Linked DNA regions of Homo sapiens: region 1 is linked to region 2. Evidence: promoter capture Hi-C in 16 types of primary human blood cells and fetal thymus (Javierre and others, 2016). All regions are on one chromosome and are shown on one strand. Each heading gives the region's core, a stretch centred on a gene start or on the middle of the fragment in contact. The rest is flanking DNA. Distances are from core to core; before and after follow the strand shown.

The links. The method cuts DNA at HindIII sites, captures the fragments that hold promoters and counts their contacts. A CHiCAGO score of 5 or more calls a contact.
Region 1: a contact is called between a fragment that was not itself captured here and the fragment with the promoter of PIWIL1 in region 2, in 1 of 17 cell types (total CD4 T cells). The highest score is 9.8, in total CD4 T cells.

Annotation. Positions count from the first base shown.
Region 1 is chr12:125,179,797-125,185,841 of GRCh38, forward strand. No RefSeq gene overlaps it. Among named protein-coding and RNA genes, the nearest start is that of TMEM132B, 3.6 kb to the right of the region's middle. RefSeq lists an enhancer at 5,791-6,045. The HindIII fragment of the contact is 3,362 bases long and covers 2,202-5,563 here.
Region 2 is chr12:130,334,114-130,340,309 of GRCh38, forward strand. PIWIL1 (piwi like RNA-mediated gene silencing 1) reads left to right here and starts at 3,774. Exons shown (of 21, transcript NM_004764.5): 1 at 3,774-4,033. LOC101927786 (a long non-coding RNA gene) reads right to left here and starts at 2,127. Exons shown (of 3, transcript XR_242978.5): 1 at 796-2,127. RefSeq lists an enhancer at 898-1,067. The HindIII fragment of the contact is 10,112 bases long and covers 1-6,196 here.

The DNA of each region.
Region 1 (6,045 bases), core at 2,633-5,132, 5.2 Mb before region 2:
AATGTTTGGCATCATAAAAATTGGTTAAACAAATTACAGCATATCCAATGATAGGACTGTGCAACATCATTAAAATTATCATATGGAAAAACATTTAAATGCCATGGAAAGATGTTCACAATATATAATTACATATGAAGAGCAATTTAAAACAGTACATATCATGTGAACCCATTTTTAATTAAAAAAACTATGTCGAGTATGCATAGGAAAGGGACTGGAGAAATACATTAAAATATTAGAAGTGTTTATCTTTTAAAGGTGGCAGTTTTGCTTTTTGAATATTTGTATCTTTGAGTTTCTGCGAGGAACAAAGAATTTGAAAAATACTGAGTTATGCCACATCAGAGAACTAATAATAACAATATAACTCTCACAAAGTCAGTTTAAAAGAAATAGAATTTTCTACTTTTTTTTTTTTTAACCATTTGACTTAAGGTCTCAGGCTATTTTGTTGATGGGATAAATGCATATAACAGTCCACTTGGGGCTTTTCCTGAACCCACCGTGATGGTTGATTTGGCTGTCAACTTGCCTGGATTAAGGGGTGCCCAGATAGCTGGGAAAGCACTATTTATCCTCAATGCTCCTGCAGGGAGTGGGGTTGTCCCTCTTCTGCTGAAAGGGAAGCCCAGGTGGTTTGGTATTTGATTAGGATGATTGGGCTGTCCCAGGTGCGCTTGTGAGGGTGTTTTTGGAGGGGACTGGATGTGAGTCTGTGACCTGAGTACGGAAGCTCCTCTGCTGGCGGGGGTCCAGATGCAGTAAAAAGGTAGAGGGAGGGTGAATGCGTGCTCTCTTCTGCATCTGGGTTGCCCTCCTTCTCCTGACCTTGACATCGAACTCCAGGTTCTCTGGCTTTTGGACTCTGGAACTTACACCAGCCCCCAACCCTGCAAACTCTCAGGCCTTCAGCTTGGACTGAGAGTTACACCACTGGCTTCCTTGGTTCTGAGGCTTTCGGATTGGGACTGAGCCCCATCACTGGCTTCCCTCAGTCTCCCACTTGTGGATGGCCTCTTATGAGACTTTTTCACCTCCACAATCAAGTGAGCTGATACCCCTAATAAATCCCTTTGCATAGCTTTCGTTCTGTATATCTTTTTTTAAAAAAATTATTTTTATTTTTGGTAGAGACAGGGTTTCACCATGTTGTCCAGGGTGGTCTCGAACTCTTGACCTCAGGTGATCTGCCCACCTTGGCCTCCCAAAGTGCTGGGACTTATAGGTTCTCTGTCTTTCTGGAGACTCTGACTAAAACACCACCTTTCTTAATTAGGCTGCTTTTTGCTGAAAGTAACGGATGTCCAAATAGCAGTGTTTAAACAATGCAGTTTATGAGCTCAATGCAGAATATCAGCTCAGTGAGTGCCCCTGGCCTTGGGACTGCACTTCTGGGGTGACACATTGGCTCCAGGATGTTGCCAGGATCTGTCTTTCCACTCTCCCACCAGTAGCCATCAGTGGGCACTGTGGTGCCTCATGGGCACAAGAGGCTGCCAGGGCCCTTCCCATCACACTTGTACTCAACAAGCTGCCAAGAAGGAAGAGGGAAGAGGGCAAAAAGGAACTTTGTCTCTCTTGTTTGATCAAGGAAAGTGGTCCTCCTCCAGCTCCTCTTTACATCTCATTGGTCACTCTGACCCCCTTGCCTCTTCCAGAACCGTCCCTGGCTTGAGGGAATGTGGTAGGCTGAGACCTGTTAGGATTCTGACCCCGTCCCCAGGGCTGGGCATGTTGCCACTCAAACAAATAGGGAGCCTCTTGGGAAGGGAGACAGGGCTGCTTCTAGTTCCTGGGGGTCTTGGGTTGTGCTGAGGCATGGTGGGTGGAGAAGGGATGGTTGGCTTAACTCATCCATCTTGGTTAACAGACACTGGGGTTGGACTGCTTGGGGTTAAACATGATTCTGCCATTTGCTGGCTGACAGTGCAGCCATGGAAAAATTGCTTCATCTTTCTGTGCTCCAGTTTTCTCAGCCAATAAAATGGTTATGGGATTAAATGAATCAAAACACGCAAGCCCGAAAGAATTGAAAACAGGTGTTCTAACAGAAAATTATACATGAATGTTTACAGCAGCACTATTCATAATAGTGTTTCCAAGGTAGACAGCAACCCAAATGTTCATCAACAGATGATGGACAAACAAACATGTTCTACCCACGCAGTGGAATATTAGTCAGCCATAAAAAGGAGTGAAGCTTTGACAGGGTACGACGTCGATGAACCTTGAAGACACGATGCTGAGTGAAAGAAGCCAGACACAAAAGATCACACACTGTATGATCCCACTTAAATTAGTTAGTGGAGCAGTCAAATTCATAGAGACAGAAAGTAGTCTGGTGGGTGCTAAGGGTGGAAGGGAGGGGAGAATGGGGAGTGATTGGGTACCAGGTTTCTGGTTGGGTGATGAAAAAGTTCTGGAACTGGAGAGTGGTGATGGTTGCATAGCACTGCGAATGTACTAAGTGCCACTGAATTGTACACTTTAAAGTGATTAAAATGGTAAATTTCATGTTATGTGCATTTTACCACCATTAAAAACCAACACACGTGCAAACTGCTTCGAGCAGTGTCTGGTATGTATTCAATGATGCATCATTATTTATTATTATCATTATTATTTGTTATTAGTCTTGTTCTGCTCTAGCACACTTTACACTTGCTCCAAAATCCCATCCCGATGGTGCCTTCACCCCTGGCTGCCACCTCACACCCTTCCCAGCCCCTGCCGGTCCAGGAATCATTTTATCCTGGGAAGCCAGGGGTCAGAGCTCTTCAAGGTGCTTTCTGCTCAAACACACCAGAAAGCCATTTCTCCCCTGTGGCCTCCTCCCAGTTGGGAGTGGACCTGGAAGGGAAGTCAAGTCCTTCCTGGTCTGAGTGTTCATGGGCTCACATCCCAGGGCTCAGTGCTTACTGTACTGTCCAGCCCTGAGCTCCTTTCATTCATACATTAATATAACCAGGACTGATTGGGCCACTCTCTGTACATATGATGCTGGGTGGTAGCCACTGTTACGAAGAAGAACAAAGCAGGGGAGGGGACAGAGAGTGATATGGATGACTGCAAGTTGCCATAAAGAGGCTCCTTCCTTCCATCATGGGTCCATATGTCCAGGTGTGCAAGTAACTGATTTCTTGAAATTCTTTATTCTTAGTAAATCCTTGATTACCTGTATAAGTGAGCTTGGCTTCTATTTTGAGAGGCCCCTTTCCCCTACCACTCACCTGTGGTGCAAATGCAATCTAAGTCAATTCTGTGTTCCCTGAACATGCCAGAAACATCGATGTGTGCAATGGACAACAAACAGTCCCAGGCTTTGCAAAGAATTTCAACGGGTGGTCACCACGGCAGCAGCTGCCTGCGTGTTGGCGTTCAAGGGCAAAGGGGTCTGTTATTGCCGCTGCCAGTTGGCTGAGGTGGGGAAACCTCTCTGCCTATTCGCCTCCATCTCACCCCTACCCGCACCCCCACCCTGACCTTCCTTCTGCAGCGCCCTCCAGACCTGCAGTTCCAGTTTCAGCCACGAGATGGCAATGTTGCTCTTCGCCGGTAGCCCGGCGGGCGCGTGGGCTGAGCTGCAGCAGAACTGGGGTGCGGGGACGGACCGGGAGCAATCCGTGCTGGAGGCAGTCTCTTGCTGTGCAGGGGGTGGTGCGGCCTGAGGAAGCCTTGCATGGCTATGCTGGGGCTCGAGGCTGGCTGTTAGTCGAGTCGGCCTCCCCACACTTACAGATCCAGGAGAAGGACAATTCCTGGACTCAGTATCCCATCTATACTTAGGGGGAGATTGTAGGCTGTGTAATTCTTACGGTCCTGCCCAGGCTATGAGGCCAGCAGGCTGGGGGCGAGAGTCTAGGTAGGAGTGAGAGGAGAATTCCGCTCAGCCCTGGGGTCTCCTCGTTACTGCCGCCAGCCTCTCAGATTCCCCCCCGCCCTTCAGAATCCAGGGAGGCTTTTTTCCCCTGCTTATTTCCTCCAGAAACACCCCCTTTAGAGATACAGGCTTAGGGGCATGGTTAATATGCAGAAATCCTCATCCAACCACAAGACAGGCTGAGCCAGGCTGGAATTCTCATCCCTACCCCACGTATGAGCTCAGAGAGGATTAGGGGCTTGTCCAGAGTCACACAGCTGGGGCATGGAAAAGCTACCCTCAAAAGGAGATTCCTCTCTTCAGCGTCTGGCTCAACCACCATCAGCATATTTTAATGGGGAAGTGCCCTTCCCCACTGAAAGGTGCTTTCTTGGAGTATGACCAGGTAGTCCTGAGTGTGGGGTTGGGGGGAAGGCAACTGCCATCTGCCATCACACCTGGGACTGTGTGACCACTGGCTTGGGGACTTGCTGGACTGATTCACAACCCTCTCCAAGCACCGCCACTAAAGCCACAGAATGACCCCTTACCCTGCCAGAAAATGACTTTTATCTTTGGCCACAGTCTCCCAGCCTCACTGACCTGCTTCCTGGTCAAACACACGGTTCACCTTGGCACCAGCACCCCGCGGTCACTCCTGCTGTGGCTCTCCCCTGCTGTCGTCCATTCATTTCTGCTTCACCATCCCCTGCAGAGGCCGGCACACAGTAGGTGCTCAGCTCTGCAGATGCTTATGAACAAGTGAACAGGAAAGAGGTGTTGGGGGCAGCCGGGCACAGAGGACCCTAAGAGAGTCCTGACCACGTCTCCAGGATCATCCTCTTATCTGGGGAAAGGGTCACAGAAAGGGGACAGATGGGCCCCTCGCAAGGCCACCCTAAGCCCGAGGAGACCCCCAATCCCGTCGTCCAGCCTGTTGTATGGCTCTCCACACATTGCAGGCCTTGCCAGGGAGCCCAAAGGGGGCTTGGCCTGGGCATGGGCCCCTTGTAAAGGAAGCCGATTAACAGCCACGGGAAAATCCCTTTACGTCTCCTAATTAACCTGGGCTGGAGACTCACCACCTGCCCCTGGCTTTCTTCCTTCTTTTATCTAGGAAGAACTGAGTGCTGCCTCTGCTAATGAGCTTGTCTGTACTAATCAAGCAGGTGCCCTGTCCCCCATCCCCTCTTGGCAGCCGGGAGTGGGGAGGATTGTCCTTCTGATGTGAGCTCTGGGCCCGCAGAGGAAAATCAGATCTATCATAATAATGGCCATGATGATGAGAATGATAATGTTGACACTGACTCCTTTAAATGAGTTCCGACTTCCTAGGTCAGGGGCTTTGTATGTGTTATTGGGGACACCAGGTGATGTGCAATGCCTTCCATCTCTCAGATGAGAAAACTGAGGCTCAGGGAGGAATAAGGGACTCGCCCCAGCTTGCACAGCTAAGGAGCGGCAGAGCTGGGATTCTCAGCCAAGACTCCATGACTCCAGAGCCTTCCCCAAATCTGTCTTTTCATCACCCCACGCTGCCTTATTGACCATTTTCAAAGAGTTTGACCCACTTTTTCATGGAAAACTGAGATGGCAGAGCAAGTGGCTGGTGTGGTGGGGGCTGGGGCGGAGCCAGGACTCCAAGCCACCCTCCCAGGTGGGCAACCCCCCATATCCCCTGTCCTCCCAGCGTGGTGGGGAAGCTTGAAGGCATCTGAGCGCTGCTGGAGGCTCCCCCACATGCTCCCAGCATGACTCATTCATTCGGCTTAGCCCCCCGTGGCTTTGCCCTGGTTGGGGGTGGGGCGCCCAGGAGGATCAGTGGTTTCTGGGATAATAGGTACTGGGGCTCCGTGTGACCTGTGACCTCCCTCCGCACTCTGGCTGCGTCCCTGCCCCTGGATGGAAGAATTCGACCACCTAGTACCCGGCCCTGCGCAACACCTCCGCTCCGTCACTGCCTGACCCTGCGCTGGGAACTCATTCCCGGGACCGCCAGGGAATCTGCCCTTCCCAGGAGAACTCCTGGCTGCCTCCGCGTGCTCCTAGGGCCTGCGCGAAATGGGAAGGCGCATCCTCTAGCCTGGGTAAATAAGGGACCCTGCCTCACCCGGGTGGCCATCCCCAGGCCGCCTTCGCTGTGTTTCAGGTCACCGCACCCAGCCTGCGCACCCCTAGCCCCC
Region 2 (6,196 bases), core at 2,524-5,023:
AGATCATATTTTCAGCTTTACATGAAGTAACTTGGGATTTTTCTGTTCTCTGAGTATCTTCCATTGTTTCCCTTCCCTGGGATGCTCCTCTGCCCAACACTAGAGAGCACTGGTGGCCATTCCTAAAAACGCACCGGAAAATGTCCAAGTTTCCTGCTCCCCTTTAAAAACGTTTGAGCTGTCCACCAATGGATGAGTGGATAAACAAAATGTGGTCCGTCCAAACAGCAGAGTAAGATCCAGCCGTAAGGAGGACGGAAGCTCTGACGGGCTACGACGTAGGTGAGCCTTGAGAATACGGCGCTGAGTGAAAGAAGCCAGACACAAACGGCCACCTAGTGTATGACCCCGTTTCTATGAAATGAACAGGAAAGGAGACAGAAAGCAGATTCGTGGTTGCCAGGGTAGTGGGGGGAAGAGGGAGATGGAGAGTGACGGTTTTATTTTGGGATGATGAAAATGTTTTGGAACTAGAGGTGGGGGGTTGCGTAACATTATGAACGCATTAAATATCATGGAATTGTTCACTGTAAAATAGTTAATGTAGTGTTATGTGAATTTCACCTCAATTAAAAAAACAACAACAACAACAACCAAAGCCATCATGTGAGGCCCAGCAAATCTGAGCCCTCATTCTCTCCTGGTAACTGGCTAGGACTAAGCAGCCACTGGCCCTTCAGGTCAGCATCCACGTTCCCAATTGTCACACTCCCTGCTTCCCTTGTTGGGCCATCAGCGGGAGGGCAGAGTGTGTTTTATTCACATCAATGGGAGGACAGAGTGTGTTTTACTCACAGCACTTAACAGGGTGCGTTCGGCAGTCCAGATGCTCACATTTCCTTGCTCGCCAACTTCTAGAACCCGGTCTGTCCCTTCTGCAGCATCATCCCCTACGACTCCCCTGCCTGTGCCTGGCGTTGCTCCCGTGCTGGATGACTTGCAGTTTTCTAAACACCTCACATGTGCTCAGACCAACGTGCTCCGCCATGCCGATCCTCCTGTTCCCTGCAAACCCAAATCAGCCTTCAGGGCTTCAGCAGCGTTGAGTCACGAAGCATCCCTCAGCAACCTCCCGCTGAGCACCCACAGGATTGGTGGCACTCTGCTCACCTTCCCTGGTGGGTACACCCCTCTAGAGGCGGCTCCCGGAAAAAGAATCTGTAACTATTCATTTTTTAACTTCCAGAGTCAGGCACGAAGTTATACCTAGCAACGGATCCCAGAAGGGGTCCTGGTGGTGCTGTCAACATGGAAATTTTAAAGGTCACATTTTTTTTTCCTTGAATTTCTTTTCAAATTTTCGTTGAGTTTTCCTTTTCAAATTTTAGGTGAGCTTCTTGCGACATGATGTTTACACTCTCAGAAGAATGAGGGGTTTTGCCTCTGTCTTGCTATATCACAACTTATGTCTTTAGAAACTATTTCATACTTCACACACCAAGACACTCCAGCGATGTTCTTTAGCAGAGGCAAGTAAGGAGTTTAGCATATAGAGAAAATAAAGCAGAGGGAAAAGTGTTACTTCTATAGTGTAAGGTGCATTCACGGTATTTTTCTCCCGAGTTGAGGCTGTAAACATCTATTTCTTGTTTTATGGCTCCATCTGCTGGCAGGTCTCAGAATGTCTTTCTCATCAACACCTTAAATCCTTGGAAAAGTTATGTTCACATTGTATTCCAAAAGGCACCATTTAGTTTTTACAAAGCGAAAGCCTTTGGAAAGCTATTTTTCTTTCAAACTACTGGCTTCCAACGCCTTTTGGCCTCGCCCCAAATTTATTAGCCTTCTCTGAGCATAAGAATAACTTGATGTTACTTCTTGAAATTCCTTGCACCCGTCCCAGACCTCCTGGAATCAGCGTGATCTGGGAGTCTGTATTATTTGGAAGTTCCCTCAGTGGATGCTTACACTCAGGCTAGTGTGGGAAACGCTGACATCTAACCTGCCCCTTTCATGGCACAGATGAGACGTAGGATTTGGGAAGGTGGCTTGGGGAGCCTTCAGCCCTCTCCAGCCCCCGATTCCCAGGCATGCGCTTTTAAGTATGAATAATAAGCAATATGTAGGCCGGGCTCTGTGGCTTATGCCTGTAATCCCTGCACATTGGGAGGCCAAGATGGGTGGATCACTTGAGCCCAGAAGTTTGAGACCGGCCTGGGCAACATGATGAAACCCTCTTTCTACAAGAAATACAAAAAAATTAGCTGGGTGTATTTCTCGTATTTCTACAAGAAATACAAAAAAATTACTACAGGTGGCACACACCTGTAGTACCAGCTACAGGGGAGGCTGAGGCAGGAGGATCACCTGAGCCCAGGAGGTCGAGGCTGCAGGGAGCCATGATCCCACCATTGCACTCCAGCCTGACAGAGCCAGACCCTGTCTCAAAACAAAACAAAGAACACAAAATTATGTGGGCATGGTGGTGGGTGCCTGTAGTCGCAGCTACTCAGGAGGCTGGGAGACGGAGGTTGCAGTGAGCCAAGATCCTGCCACTGCACTCCAGCCTGGGCGACAGAGTGAGACTCCGTCTCACAAAAAAAAAAAAGGAAAAGCACTATGTTTACCGTATAAATGCAGTTTTAAAACCTGTCTGCAGAGGCGACCCTATTTCTACTACCTCCTACAATCATGTTTATAGTTATGGAACATAACAGGTCAGGCAGTTAGTGAGCCTCAGTCCCACTTCCACCTTGACAAATAAACCTGTTCTATCTTACAATATTTCCGGTTGTTTTGTGGCTGTTGACTTTGCCTCCATGAGGAAATTAACTCCTATGGAGGGCACCTAGCTCGGCGTAGACCCGGTCGCTACCACCTGCGATGCCTTGGAAATGCAGCCGGCGGGGCCCACCTGTGGAGCCTGCAGACCGGAATCTCTGGTCTGTGTCCTAACCAGCCCTGCAGGTGATCCCCCGCAGGTGAAGGCTGAGAACCCCTGCGGTCCACGTTGGCATGCACCCAAGGCACAAGTCATTGAAAGCTAAATTTCCAGGTAACGGCCTCCTGGCACCTTAGACTTGCATTGCAGTTTTATTTTCTTTGGGGTCAAAGTTCAAATCTCTGTGTGCTGAGTGAAAGAGCTTCCGACGTTAAAGGCCAGACCAAGATCGAGTCCACTGCTACAGTAGGGCGCTCGGTGCCCACGTGGGCACCATTTCGAAGTCTATGGAGGGTCTACTTCGTGCGCCGCCGCCCAGTTCCACGAGCTAGTAGGGAACTGGCCCGACCCCGTGTCCGCCTGCAGGGGGCTGGCACTGGGGGAACTGCAGGAGTCAAGCCAGGGAAGGCCGGGGGTCTGGGCGAAGCAGAAGAGGAACAGGGCGGGGCCTGGGTGGGGCTGGCCGGGGCCTGTGGGGAGGGGGCAGGGCACGTGTTGGGTGTCTGGGCGGGGCCAGGCGGGGTCTTGGGGGGACAGGGGCGGAGCCTGTGGGGCGGGGGCGGGGCCTGTGGGGGCCTGGGCGTGGCGTCTAGGCAGGGCCAGGCGGGGTCTTGGCGGGATGGGGGCGGGGCCTATGGGGAGGGGCCAGGGCATGTGCGGGGTGTCTGTCCGGGGCCAGGCGGTGTCTTGGGGGGCCAGGGGCAGGGCCTGTGGGGCGGGGCGGGCCTGGCTTGTTGGGCCTGTGCCGGGTGTCCGGGAGGGGCCAGACGGGGTCTTGGAGGGGCGGGGCCGGGGCCTGTGGGGCGGGGCTCCTCTGGTCCCGCCCCGGCCACATCAGAAACCGCCGTTTGCGGGGCAGCCAATGAGGGCGTGGCGCGCGCCGCTTTCCGCCGTTACTGGGCGTATGGCGTACAGACACGAGGCCGGCGCCCGGGAGGCGGTGTTCATCCGCCCGGGAAAAGAGCGCCTGTTGCTCGCTGCCCGCGTGTCCCTGGCTCTCTCGGGAACCCAGCGCCGAAGGCGAGGTGGGCGCGGGCCGAAGGAGGTCCTGGGAGGTCGGCGGCGCGGAGGGATCTCCGCGGGAGCCGTTGGGGCTGTTGGCCTCGGGCTGAGGTGCAAGGACCAGGACTAGGGCGAGGGCAGCGGTCCAAGGTGCGGGGCCAGGCTGAGGTGCTAGGTGTGCGGGGGCCGGGATGCGGGGGCGGCGGCTGGGGGTCCGGGATGTGGAGGTGAGGCTCGAGGTGCGGGGACCGGGTTGCGGGGGCGAGGTCCCAGGTGCGGGGGATGCAGGAGCCGGGTGCGGGGTCGAGGTCCCAGGTGCGGGAGATGCAGGAGCCGGGTGCGGGGGCGAGGTCCCAGGTGTGGGAGATGCAGGAGCCGGGTGCGGGGGCGAGGTCCCAGGTGCAAGGGATGCAGGAGCCGGGTGCGGGGGCGAGGTCCCAGGTGCGGGAGATGCAGGAGCCGGGTGCGGGGGCGAGGTCCCAGGTGTGGGAGATGCAGGAGCCGGGTGCGGGGGCGAGGTCCCAGGTGCGGGAGATGCAGAAGCCGGGTGCGGGGGCGAGGTCCCAGGTGTGGGAGATGCAGGAGCCGGGTGCGGGGGCGAGGTCCCAGGTGCGGGGGATGCAGGAGCCGGGTGCGGGGGCGAGGTCCCAGGTGTGGGAGATGCAGGAGCCGGGTGCGGGGGCGAGGTCCCAGGTGCGGGGGATGCAGGAGCCGGGTGCGGGGGCGAGGTCCCAGGTTTGGGAGATGCAGGAGCCTGGGGTGCAGGGGCCGGGGTGCGGGGGCGATGTATCAGGTGTGGGGGGTGCGGGGCCGGGGGGAAGCGCTGAGGCCCGACTTGCCGGGGCTGTAGGGCCGGGGTGCGGGGGTGCAGGGGCCGGGGTGCGGGGGCGAGGTCCCAGGTGCAGGGGCCGGGGTGAGAGGCTGAGGCCTGAGTTGCCGGGGGTGCGGGGGCGGAGGTCTCCGCATTGGCGGCCGTGCGTGAGACTGCGGGGACCTGAGAGCTCTGCAGGAGGGCCTTCGGGACCTCCCGCACTACCCACGCGGCCGCGGGGCGCGATCTCTGCGGAGGGCGAGGGCCCCTTCCCGCGTCCGCCGCCGCTGCGCTGCGCCCCCGGGAGCCTTGGGAGCCGGACGTTGGGAAGAGGACGGAACTCCGGAGGACCCCAAGTGAGGCGGCGACCGCGACGGCCGGGCTCTGCGAGGCCCGGGGGTCCTCGCGGGTGCTGGCGGCCCGGCCCTTGGCACCTGTGGAGGGAAAGGGGCGGCGGGGCGGTGGCGTCCTGGGATGGATGCTCTCGCCGTCTTCAGCCCCGGCGGCCTCCAGGGCAAAGCCGGCTGCACCCCTGCGCAGCCTGTTCTCTGAGCGCTTTTCTTTTCGTTTTTAAGTTGTGGCCAGAGAGACCCCGCTCGCATAGAATGTACCGCTCAACGGTTTTTAGGCGTGTGGCGCGGTGGTGGTTCCCACGTGCACGGCGTGGTCCTGAGCTCAGCGCCGGAGGGACGTTAGGTGGAAGCGTCTTTGGCAGAGCTGGTAGCGAATCGGAGAGGTGATTTCCAGCGAGTGTGGTTATTGGAAGCACACACTTGCTTTCTGACTTTAAGAATTCAATATCCAGACTGAGGTGGTTTTGAAACTGGAAGGAGATAAAGCTGAAAACCAGAGTTGTGCTGGGAAACCTGGACGTAGAGCGCTGAGCCCCCCAGGTATTTAGTGACCAGCACAGCGCGCCGCCGTGGGTTTCAGGCCCTGGAGATGATGAGAATCAGCTGGAGGGCTGCTTCCAGTCGGCTTCTAACTCGGGAGGGCTGAGAGCCGCTCCCCACCCCGTAATTTCTGTTCCCAGCCAGTCCAGATGCTGCCCGTCAGGGACCAGGCTTTGAGAACTGACGTGCTGCTTTAGGAATATTTCCTGCTGGAGATGAGAGTTCAGCTTGTCACTGTTTTTTAATCACTGTTTCACACCGTTGTTTGTAAGGTGTCAAGCGACGGACTGGGTGCAAAGGCATCAATTGTGATTCGCAGCCTAGTTGGAGAAGCTATGGAGTGCAGAGATGTGGGGAGGGAGAAAACAGGTTACCATGTAGTAGGGTGACCGTGGTCACGCCGGGGAAACGGCTTTCGGAGAAGGGAGCAAGGGATGGCCTGCGAGCTGGTCCTTAAGCGGTTCACTGGATTCTTGTGGTTTCAGAGGAGGGTGAGGCTTTGTTAGCAGAGGGTGTGCCACGGTGTAGGGTGAGTCACGGAATTGATAGTGATAGGAAGCAAGTTGTGTTTGCTGGAGTCTCAAGCGGATGCTTTCAGATTGATTTGTA